Regions from separate parts of the Homo sapiens genome. Here region 1 is linked to region 2. The links are contacts of gene promoters, found by promoter capture Hi-C in blood cells and fetal thymus (Javierre and others, 2016). All regions are on one chromosome and are shown on one strand. Each heading gives the region's core, a stretch centred on a gene start or on the middle of the fragment in contact. The rest is flanking DNA. Distances are from core to core; before and after follow the strand shown.

What was found. Contacts are between HindIII fragments. The CHiCAGO score rates a contact against its expected background, and 5 or more counts as called.
Region 1: a contact is called between a fragment that was not itself captured here and the fragment with the promoter of FAM241B in region 2, in 4 of 17 cell types (M2 macrophages, naive CD4 T cells, megakaryocytes and 1 more). The highest score is 7.2, in M2 macrophages.

What each region holds. Positions count from the first base shown.
Region 1 is chr10:69,530,292-69,536,379 of GRCh38, reverse strand. It overlaps LOC105378345 (a long non-coding RNA gene), which reads left to right. Exons shown (of 3, transcript XR_007062177.1): 3 at 292-370. It also overlaps a transcript of TSPAN15 not described here. Among named protein-coding and RNA genes, the nearest start is that of NEUROG3, 40 kb to the left of the region's middle. The HindIII fragment of the contact is 7,934 bases long and covers 755-6,088 here.
Region 2 is chr10:69,627,809-69,634,016 of GRCh38, reverse strand. FAM241B (family with sequence similarity 241 member B) reads right to left here and starts at 3,770. Exons shown (of 4, transcript NM_145306.3): 1 at 3,704-3,770; 2 at 2,470-2,537; 3 at 2,178-2,308; 4 at 421-1,227. The coding sequence starts at 2,273. The coding sequence ends at 958. RefSeq lists an enhancer at 2,342-3,227. The HindIII fragment of the contact is 17,043 bases long and covers 2,453-6,208 here.

The DNA of each region.
Region 1 (6,088 bases), core at 3,472-5,971, 99 kb after region 2:
AGTGTCTGGTACCTGGAAGATGGCCAAAAAATACTATCTGAAGGAATGGTCAATGAGCATGTGTGACTCTTACATGACAATATAATACTGGTCAAATGCCAGATCAGAACCTTGAGATGGCTCCCATGGAGTCATTAACATGCTCTAATTCACTAATTGAGGTAGCAATTGATCTGGGGCTGGAGTCAGGAAGGGATAGGTTACAGTGAAGTGTCAAATAGAACCTGTTCACTGAGTTCCCTTGGCCCAGTGCTTGATGACAGGATGTCAAACATTTTTATTCCCAAAAAGGTGGCTTCCTCAATCCTGTACATGAATTGGTGGCAGTGGGATGAACTAAGCGACCTCCGGCCTTCCCTCCTACTAAGTAAGTTCAGGTTCGAAGATGCTCCATCCCTGCCATTTCTGAACTCCTCTGGGTCTGGTTTTTAGGAAAAGGCACAGGATTTGCCCCCACAACCCCTGGGACAGTGGGAGAGAGTTGGGAGAAAATCTCTGCAGCTCTTCCTTGAGATGAGGGATGGACAGCGAGCAGGCTCTCTATCCCCCAAAGCCACATATCCTCCAAGTCTCACTCTGGACTGGGTTCACATCACTCTACAGAGGATTTATTGAGCATCTCCTGAATGTAAGGGCATGTGTCAGATGAGAGTGAGGGCCAGGATGCATAGAAATAAATGGAACCATAGCCTCAGGGAGTTGGGTGTGGGTGCCAGGGGCAGAAAGCTGGCCCTAGACACTGAAGGTGAAAGCTTTCAAATCACACCAGATATTCTATTTCTTAGCTAGAATGACTTTATAAGGTGTTTATTATTTGGTTACTCCATGGTACTGTTCATATAAGAGAAGTGGCATAAATGCTTGATTCTTTCCCTTTAATTACCAGGATCTAAGACAACGCATTGCTTCTCTGTCACCCTCCAAAAAAGACAAATTGGTTTGTGGGTTTTATTTTTTTAGTATTATTATTAACTCATGGGTTAAGCATTTGATAGATTTCAGTCCATTATAATTATTACCCTCATTGAAGCTCACATTGTCCCATTTTGGCTACTGGGAGCCTCTTCAAGTTGACTCCTGGGTCCTTTTGACATAACCTTTGTGGCTTAAGAAGTTCCTCTCTGTCTGGTATGATAAGATATTCCAGATTCCTCTCACAATATTTCTCTAAAAGCCTGGTTTATTTTTCATAGGAAAGGGTATTTCAGTGCTATAATCTTGGTCCTAGGAATGCTCACCGCATTTGGGTGGTCATTATGCCCAGATGTTTTTGGTCAACAGAACTAGAAAATAGAAATAAAATATGTAAATATTTTAAGATAAAATACCTCAACAGTTCATACGGGGTTTTCCAATTCAAATTCAATATTAGAATTTGGGGTTTTGTTGTTTTTTGAGACAGAATCTCACCCTGTCACCCAACCTGGAATGCACTGGCATGAACACAGCTCACTGCAGCCTCGACCTCCTGGGCCCAAGCAATCCTCTAACACTCAGCCTCCCGAGTAGCTAGGACCACAGGTGTGCACCACCATACCCTGCTTTTTTTTTTTTTTTTTTTAAGATACAGGGTCTCACTCTGTTGCCCAGGCTGGTCTCAAACTCCGGGCCTCAGACAATCCTCCCACCTCAGCCTCCCAAGGTGCAGGGATTACAGACATGAGCCACTACACCTGGCCCAATATTATAGAGTTTCTATTTAACATCTACTATATTACATCTGTATCTTCTTTCTTCCATGCCAAGAATTCTGGCATACACAGAGGATCAACTGATTAGAAATCTCATAAACACTCATTTGCTTTTTTCCACATTGTACACACAACAGTATCAGAATAGTCATACTAATACTATCACCACCGATATGATTATTGAAAATGTTTTAAAATATTTTTGATAAGCTCTTTCATTCTCCTTGTGCCCCCATTATTTTGAGGGATTGTACCATAATTACACAATCAGATCATATAACCATTACATTCTACAAGTATCTATATGTTAACATTCACCACCAGTCTTTACGCTGGTGTCTCTCTATTCTTTCTGGTTGTCTGAAGCTCCTCTAGTAGATTCCACAGGAAGGGGCAATGGAAACAATGTTCCCTGAGTTCCCACATGTTGGTAACAGTTTGTCTCTGCTTTTGTACTTAAAAGTCACCTTTGCTGGATATAAAATCCTTGGTTTACACTTTCTTTCATTGAAGATCTTAAATATGTTACTCCATTTTCTTCTGGCATGAAGTATTACTGCCTAAAAGTATGATAATAATCCAATTTTCTTTCACTTCTAACTTAAGGAGTTTTTTTGCCTAGATGACCAGAGAATTTTTATTTTTCTTCAAAGCCTAGTAATTTTCCTAGAGTATTGTGTGGAAAACACAAACTGTTTTTCCTCTGCTCCCATGCCACATCTAATAAAGAATACATCTATGACCAAATGTCTGTGGGTTTTTCCAGAACACCAAACAAGCAATCAATTCTGCAGCAGACGCCATCTGGGTGTCCACTAATTCAATTCTGACACTATCTACCTTGATACAGCATCAGATAACACAGGTTGAGCACTCAGTACGCAAAGACTGCTCCCCACTTTTGATGCCAATCACAAGCCCTAGGTTGTTTTACCTGTGCTTCTGACCAACTGACTATAAATTGGGGTTCCCATGAACCCGTCCTTGGGTTTGATTAATTTTCTTTTTTCTATATTTTTTCTTTTTCCATAAGTTATTGGGGTATGGATGGTGTTTGGTTGCATGAGTAAGTTATTTAGTGGGGATTTGTGAGATTTTGGTGCACCCATCATCCCAGCAGTATACACTGCACCCTATTTGTAATCTTTTATTCCTTGCCCACTCTCCCCCTTCCCCGCAAGCCACCAAAGTCCATTGTATCATTCTTATGCCTTTGTGTCCTCATAGCTTGGCTCCCACATGTCAGTGAGAACAAACGATGTTTGGGTTTCCATTCCTGAGTTACTTCACTTAGAATAATAGTCTCCAATCTCATCTAGGTTGCTGTGAATGCCATTAATTCATTCCTTTTTATGGCTTAGTATTCCGTTTTATATATATATATATCACAGTTTCTTTATCCACTCATTGATTGATGGGCATTTGAGTTGGTTCCATGATTTTGCAATTGCAAATTGTGCTGCTATAAACATGCATCTGCAAGTATCTTTTTCATATAATGACTTCTTTTCCTCTAGTAGTGGGATTGCTGGATCAAATGGTAGTGCTACTTTTAGTTCTTTAAGGACTCCCCACACTGTTTTCCATAGCGGTTGTACTAGTTTACATTCCCACCAGCAGTAGAGAAGTGTTCCCTGATCACCGCATCCACACCAGCATCTACTGTTTTTTGATTTTTTGATTATGACCATTCTTGCAGGACTAAGGTGGTAACGCATTGCAATTTGATTTGCTTTTCCCTGATTGTTGGTGATGCTGAGCATTTTTTCATATGTTTGTTGGGCATTTGTATACCTTCTTTTGAGAATTTATTCATGTTCTTAGGCCACTTTTTGATGGGATTGTTTGCTTTTTTCTTGATGATTTGTTTGAGTTCATTGTAGATTCTGGATATTAGTCCTTTGTCAGATGTATAGATTGTGAAGATTTTCTCCCACTCTGTGGGTTGTCTGTTTACTCTGCTGACTGTTCCTTTGCTGTGCAAAGGCTCTTTAGTTTAATTAAGTCCTAGCAATTTATCTTTGTTTTTATTGCATTTGCTTTTGGGTTCTTGGTCATGAAATCCTCGCCTAAGCCAATGTCTATAAGGGTTTGTCCGATGTTATCTTCTAGAATTTTTATAGTTTCAAGTCTTAGATTTAAATCCTTAATCCATCTTGAGTTGATTTTTGTATAAGGTGAGAGATGAAGGTCGAGTTTCATTCTCCTACATGCGGCTTGCCAATTATCCTAGCACAATTCGTTGAAAAGGGTGTCCTTTCCCCATGTTATGTTTTTGTTTGCTTTGTTGAAGATCAGTTGGCTGTAAGTATCTGGGTTTATTTCTGGGTTCTCTATTCTGTTCCATTGGCCTATGTGCCTATTTTTATACCAGCACCATGCTGTTTTGGTGACTACGGCCTTATAGTATAGTTTGAAATCAGGTAGTGTGATGCCTCCAGATATGTTCTTTTTGCTTAGTCTTGCTTTGGCTATGTGGGCTCTTTTTTGGTTCCATATTCTAAAACAATTTTTTTAACTGTGAAGAATGATGATGGTATTTTTAGGGGAATTGCATTGAATTTGTAGATTGCTTTTGGCAGTATGGTCATTTTCACAATATTAATTCTGCCCATCCATGAGCATGGGATGTGTTTCCATCTGTTTGTGTCATCTATGATTTCTTTCAGCAGTGTTTTTTAGCTTTCCTTGTAGAGGTCTTTCATCTTCTTTGTTAATATTCCTAAGTTTTTTTTTTGTTTTTTTTTTGTTTTGTTTTGTTTGTTTGTTTGTTTTGCAGCTATGTAAAAGGGGTTGAGTTCTTGATTTGTCATAGGTGGCTTTTGTTACATTGAGGGAAGTCCCTTGTATGCCAGTTTTGCTGAGTTTTAATTGTAAAGTGATGCTGGATTTTGTTGAATGTTTTTTCTGCATCTATTGAGATAATCGTGTGATTTTTGTTTTTAATTCTGTTTATGTGCTATACCACATTTATTGACCTTTTGTGCAGGTATATCTTTCTGGCATGCTTTTTTTGTTTGTAGTAATATTATTCTCCCCCTTATTCTCTTTTTTCTTACAATACTTTGGGGTTGTTTGTTTGTTTGCTTTTTGAGACAGTCTCACTGTGTCACCCAGGCTGGAGTGCAGTGGCACAATCATGTCTCACCACAGACTTGACCTCCCAGACTCAGGTGATCCTCCCACCTCAGCCTCCTGAGTAGCTGGGACTACAGGCACCCACCACCATGCACAGATAGTTTTTGTGTTTTTAGTAGAGACGGGGTTTTGCCGTGTTGCCCAGGCTGGTCTCAAACTGCTGTGCTCAAGAGATCCACTTGCCTCGGCCTCCCAAAGTGCTGGGATTACAGGCATAAGCCACCACACCCAGCCTATAATACTTTTGAATAAGATTTGACCTCAGTATTTCTTATTTATTTTTATGTGAAATTAGTTTTCCTGAACTTTTAGAAAAAGCAATAGTCAAGGTATTTTCTATGACTACATCAGTCTCTTCTGTTGTGTCTACATAGTGTTAAAAATATAGTGGCTTGCTTGCTTAGATTTCCTAGTTCTGTTTCCCTTGCTCCATTTTTACCTAGATCAGCTCTTTACTTCATCTTTATTTTTCCTGTTCCGAGCAGTTTTTATTCCAATCCCAGCTTTAATCCTGTCTAGTTATAATCTTCATATTCCTATGTTAGAGTTGTTGTAAGAGATCACTTTGGAATTTTATAAGTAGTATTTTTAGCATTTATTGACAGAATTATGTGATCTTTGTCTTTAAAGTATCCTTCATTTATGTTGACAGATTTCCTACTTTTAAACTGTGTGCACTGAGAATGTTTGCATATATATATATATATATATATATATATATATATATATAGAGAGAGAGAGAGAGAGAGAGAGAGAGAGAGAGAGAGAGAGTCTCACTCTGTCACCTAGGCTGGGCACTGCAACCTCTGCCTCCCAGGCTCAAGAGATTTTCATTTTCAGCCTCAGCCTCCCAAATAGCTGGGATTACAGGCACACACCACCACCCCTGGCTAATTTTCATATTTTTAGTAGAGATGGGGTCTCACTATGTTGGCCAGGCTGGTCTCGAACTCCTGACCTCAAATGATCCACCTGCCTCCAACTCCCGAAGTGCTGGGATTACAGGCGTGAGCCACCACACCCAGCCACATCTATATTCTTAAGTGAAATTGGTCTATAATTTTTTAGGCCATTTTACGGACTTTAGGTCTATAATATTTTGGGAACTTACTCATCAGATTTTGTTATTAAGGTCATGTTTGCTTTATAAAGTGGCTAGCAATGTTTTTCAACCATCTGGAATAATTAGAATAACAAAGTTTCCATTTTGTTAAAATTTGATAAGGACTCAACAGTTCTTCTATCTCCTGGGCCCACAC
Region 2 (6,208 bases), core at 2,521-5,020:
GGAGAATGCACTGCAGCCAGGGGTGACAGAAGCCTCTGGAGGGTGAAAGAGGCTGAGCAGCCTCTGGTCAGGAAGGTCTCCTTAAGCAAGGGAGACCTCGGACCTGCACCCCAGCTCTCCCGACCCTGCAGCCTCACCAGCCATTCTGGCCAGAGGAACCCTCCCCACAAAGCTGACCATCATGCCTGGCATCTCAGAGTGAGGCTGGAAGTTATCCACACATCAGGCAAGGGGTCCAAGCCAGATCTCATCTAGACCTTCTCTCCTAGTTCTGCGTTCCTACTGAGAAAATCTTAGAAACCACCCTCTGAGGTCAAATGCTCGCTGCTGCCTGTTCCCCGAACCCAATCCCTCTTTACCATGTTTTCCGGATCTGCATGCAGGTGTACGATTATTCATACATTTCTTTATATGGACTCATTTTTACTTAAATCTATTTATTGAAAAGGTCACAATAAATAGAATGCCACTACCACTTGTCCTAAACAATAAAGTAGCCAATAAAAATATACCATTAAAACAAAAACAGTGCTAAAAAAGTCTGGAATTTTTTCCACCTGCCCTAAGCCCAAGTCCTGCTCCCTAGGCAGAGGAGACGTCGGCATGTCTTCCACAGGCATCGGAACATGTTGGCATCCAGCTGAGATCTTCTCGGCATAAAAGGATTGAGAGAATTGGGAAGGGCATCGCTTTCTTGCTCTGATTTTGTGCCACTTAATGCAGGCCCCATACCACCTAAAAGTATCTTGGGAACCAACGGACCCACCCACACTTTGGAAATGCTGGACTAACGTCTCCCTCTGCCTCACGCTTAACACAAAGGGGAAACACACACCTGTGGTCCCCTCTCTGATCATACCTTCAAGGCACCACCAGATCCCCTCCAAATATGCCTGCTCTCACACCAAGGCCCAGCAAGTCCCTCTCAACAAACCCACCCCTATCAGCCCTCAGAGGTCACCGCTGACTCAGGTGGGACACCAGGTAGACAAGGCCAACCAGGAGGAGGCCACGAACACCAAGCATCATGAGCAGGAAGAGGAGCAGGATGGAGGTCACCGGCTCCACAGCATGGTTGCCAAGATGCCACTGCGGAAAGCCCATGTTCACCAGCTGCCGGTTGAGGTCATTGAAGGGGGACTGAGCAGCACCCAGCCTGGCACCTGCCTGCTGCTGGCGGGGGCCAGGACCCCCTGGGGGAGCACCATGGCCCCTGTTGAAGAAGCTCTGGAATGTGAAGACAGAGAGAGATGAATGAATCATTGGGTTGACGCACCAGCCAGGAATCAACCTCTCTAGGCTGCATCCTGCCCTTCCTACAGCCACCCAGGGTCACACCCTCCTTTCTCAGCAATCCCCCATGCCACCCATAAGAATCCCAACAACCAAGTCACAAGCTCTCAGAGCACAGAACATGCCAGTCTATATTCCTCACATCAGGCCCAGGACAGAGGAGAGAGGAAGTGGTTGAGGCAGGTTGGACTACAGGGCATGGCTCTAGGGCCAGCATTTTTAATACTCATCATCACTCCTTTCTTTTTTTTTTTTTTTTTTTTTTTGAGACGGAGTCTCGCTCTGTCACCCAGGCTGGAGTGCAATGGCGCGATCTCAGCTCACTGCAACCTCCGCCTCCCAGGTTCAAGCGATTCTCCTGCCTCAGCCTCCTGAGTAGCTGGGATTACAGGCATGCACCACCACACCTGGCTAATTTTGTATTTTTAGTAGAGATGGGGTTTCATCATGTTGGTCAGGCTGGTCTCAAACTCCTGGCCTCCTGATCCGCCCACCTCAGCCTCCCAAAGTGCTGGGATTACAGGTGTGAGCCACCGCGCCCAGCCACCCCTTTAAAATGATTATTCTGTGCCCAGGGCTCATCTCCTCCACTTCCTCTCCAGCTTCTGTCATCCAACCCACTCTTAAAAGAAAGACGCTAGCTCCAGTGAGGTTTGCTAACCAAGTTAAAGGAGAGAGAGCTCTTGGCTGTGAAGTCTGGGGAGGCGCCTGGAGAAAGGAGATCTGGGGAGGTAGACAATAAGCCACTGCATCTTCCCCAGCTCTCTGCAAAGAGGGCTTCAGGCTAGAAAAGGTTAGTGACCAGCAAGAGAGACTTCTGGAAGCTAGGAGTAGCCAGTACACAGGAGGCCATCTGTCCCACTCCACAGGAAATGAGTACCTACCTGTCGAGGAATGCTACCTCTTGGTGGCTGGGTAGTGGTCCTCACTCGGGGGTCGTCATCCTGCACGATTTCCCCATTGGCCAAGATCCGCACCATCCTCCCAGGCGCTGTGGGTCCCTGATGGGCTGCACCTGCATTGTGTGGTCAGGGTGGGCAGGCTAATGGAAGCCAAGTGGCACAGAAGTTCTCCCCACCACAAAACCTTTAGCTGTTAGTGATCTGGGACCAGACTCGTGAAGATCTGTGGAGGATTTTCCCCCTGACCTCAAAAAGCTTGAAGGAAAAAATTTACCAGAAATTGAGGGAGGCTTGCAGTCAGTGATGTTCACAGAGGTGACCCACGCTGAGTAGATGCTGTGTCTGATTAACAAAAAGGGGAGAAATAAAGGCAAGTTGTTTGCCAGGCAAAAAGATTTCAGACATTGAGTCCACCAGGAAAACTATCAAAAAGATCCTTGGCAAAGGAAGTTTTACTGCCAATCACTACACTGCCAACAGCACAACTGGGACTAGAGCCTCTGCTGTGGCCCACGCCCCGTGGAAGGCCCATCCTGCAAGGCTCACCTCACTCAAGCCTCACAACACTCCCCCGAGGAGGGTACTAGCGCGGCCATTGCACAGGCGGAGGCACAGGGAGACTTAAGTGGCCTGCCCGGGATCACACCTACGGACAGCAGAGAAGGAACACGAGGCCAGAAGCTCTGGTTCTAGGGCCCTCCCTGGGTACTAAACTGGGAGTCCAGGGCACCAGCATCCCCAGTGGGGTTCCAATTCCCTTCCACTAAAAAATGGGTCGAGTGTGTTGCTCCCCCAGGGAGTCAATGTCACCACCTGGGCCTTCCCCAGGAACACCCAGGGAGATGAGGGTCACTTCGGGGTTACTTTACAACCACTGCCTGGTAGCGGCAGACCATCCTAGCCATCATGCGCCTCGGAAGAGCACACCTTTGCTGCAGAGGGCACGCCCCTCACCTGTCCCTCACTTCGCAGGGAACACCAGTCCAACCTTGGCTAACGGGCGCAGGGCCCAGCCTTCCCAAAATATGGGAGGGGGTTGCTGCGGTGGCCCTCGAAAGGCTCCACTCCGCGGACCCCTGGACTGCGGGGCCCCTCCACGCCTCCCCTTGAGTCTGGGTAAAGGCCATTCATTCTCAGGAGATGAGCCTCAGTGTCCACCTACATTCCAGATAGCACTGGTGACATGTATGCCGAAAAAGGTCAGGAGCCCTGTGGTCTTGCCCGTAGCCTGGAGCCCGGGACAGGCGCGTCCCCCTCCTGAAGCCCGCTGGCCCTGGCGCAGGCCGAGCGGATGGTGGTCGCGCGCAGTCCCTTTGTGCTTTGTCATCGCGCCCCCGCCCGGTGGGCCACCCGCGCGCCCGGCCCGCGGCGCACCTGACATTCCGGGCCGGGGGCGGGAGGGACGCTGCCCCGGCCGCCAGCCCCAGCCTCTGGAGCCCGACACCGGCTCCAAGTCCCGGCCCGGGCTGCAGCGAGGGATGCGCTCCCTCCCCGGCGCGGCGACTCACCTGCAGGCGCGACTCCGGGCCTCGGCGGCGTCCACTCCCGGCGGCTCCAGGCGGTTTCCTCCCACCTGACCTCACAGGAAGCGCGCGCCGGAGGGGCGCGGCCCAGTGGCGGCGCACATCGCCCTCTGTAGGCCGCCTGAGGAATTGCACCTGCCCGGCCCAGGGTTGGGGGCGGCGCGGGGTGCTGGGGGTCGGGGAGATGGGGCGTGGGAAGGAGTGGGAGGTGGGGATGGAGAGAAAAGAGGATGGGAGGAGAAGACACGTGGAAAAGAAGGAGAAGAAGGAGGAGGGAGAAAAGAAGGAAAAGGAAGCGGCGTCCACGGAGGAAAAACCCAGGGGGTGGGGGCGCCCTGGCCTGGGAGGAAGGGCGGGCGCAGGCTCAGATGACCAGTGTTATGTTTGCTGACCCAGCTCCGTGGATGCCCCTTGAGTAGGACCCAACCCTGCCCTCTAGGAGTTCCAAGTTCAGTGGGGAAGATGAGGCAGGAACGGGGCAGAACCCTCTGTAGGCTTCCAGGAGAAGATGCGTTTGAGCTGGGGCAGGAGGGTAGGTAAGGATAGAGAAGGTCACTCTTGGCAGAAGGAACCACCTGCAGGGAGTGAATGATCCACCTCTGCCTCCTTCCTGATGTTTTAAAATCCACTTCTCCCCCACCACCTTCATAAGCTGCTCCCTGTGGACCTGCTCACCAGTGGGGGAGAATGAGCTGTGCAGTCCCACAGTCTGGGTTCAGGTTCTGGACTCTAGCAAGTTACTTAGCTGCTCAGTGTCACAAAGCAGGTGTAATCATAGCCTTACAGGACTTCTGTGAAGATTAAGTATGATGTCTCTGGCACATTGGCAATGTTGATAAACGTTAGCTATGATTATCATTTAATAAATGTTTGTGGGAGTGGCAGATATTTGTTGAGCATTTATTAGAACCCAGATTCTGCTAGCTGCTGGGCAGAAGGAACAAAACTAAGAGAGAGATTTAGACCTGGCCTGGAGGACTCATAGTCGGCCACCATAGTCTGATTATTTGATCATGAAACCTTATCAGCAAAAAATGTTTCACGGGTCGCTCTGGTATCTGTATCTTATTTATATGTTACTATTTTTGTTTGTTTCTAAATTACACATGTGTACTGTGAGAACAGATTGGCATGATGGATAAAAGGTGGCTGCTGGAGCCATCCTGTGTTTGAATGTTGGTGTGACTGCTTTCTGGCACTTTCGTGTCAAGTGCTTGGATGAGAGCCTGGCTGCAGTACATGCTCAACGGCTGCTGACTGTTATGATCATTACCTCTTCTACTATCAAGTCGATTGTAAAGCATGCACATTTTAAAAGCATAGGATGTAAAGTAAATATAAACCAAAATCCTAGTGCTTTCTCCCCACACCCCAGTGTGTTCCAGGTATGCCAAGTGCACGCATGAAAGCAGTAATCACAAGGCAGGATGCCCGATTGTCAGAGGTGGCCTGTGATCCCAAATCGCAATGTGCACATTGGAATTACCTGGAATGTTTAGAAACCATCCCAATACCTAGGTTCCACCCCAGAGATCACAATGTCGTTGATCTGGGTTACAATCTGTGCATGGAGACATTTTAAAAACCAGTCTTCTAATGAGCAGCTAGGGCCGAGAAACACTGCCTTCCATGAACAGAACCCCATAAGTAGGTCACGGAACTCAGGAGCCCCAAGAGGGAGGTAACCTCTGTGGGCTGGGAAACCAGGGGATACAGGCAGAAAATCATGGATGTTTTCAGGAAGATTTGAGCTGGTATAACTGCTGCCAGAGAGATACACTCCAGCTGGAGAGAACCGTAAGAGTCGAGAGGAAGAAGCAAGTCCCTACAGAAAAGTCAAGAACAGCTTTGGGGTGGGAAGTGATAGTGCTTGACTGGACTTAGAAATAGCCTATTATTACCAACTAAAATAGCCTAAGGAGGCAACATACCACTTTTGCTATCTCTCCACCTTCTTCAGGTGTCTCTCCTGCTCAAGAACCTGCAATGGTCCCTACTGTCTGCTCCAACAAGCCCCAACTCATTGGCAAGGCTTTGACAACCCTCCAACTCTAGCCCCAGCACACTGTCAGCAACTCCTTCCCTCAGCTCTGCCCACCTGGCCTCTTTGCTTTCCCTGAAGTAGATCACCCAAAGGCCTGCTTTGCTTGGGCCTGAATATCTGCTGGAAGGCCAGCTCCACCCAATCTAAATCCCTTCATCCACAAACGTGATTGTTTCATGTAATAATAATAATAACCCCTATATGTGCAGAGTCCTTACTTCCAAAGTGTTTTCCCAGAGACCACTTCATTCTTTTTTGGATTATGAAATAGAAAGAGTAGGTGTTATTATTCCTCTTTTACCAAGGTGAAATTGAGGCTCAGAGACAAGGTAGATGATGAGCCCAAGGTCAGTGACAGAGCCAGCGTTCAAATGAAGGCAGGTCCCCGGGCTCTGCATTCCAGGCTTTTGCATCCACCAAACAGACTCCCCTGAGTTCATCTCAGC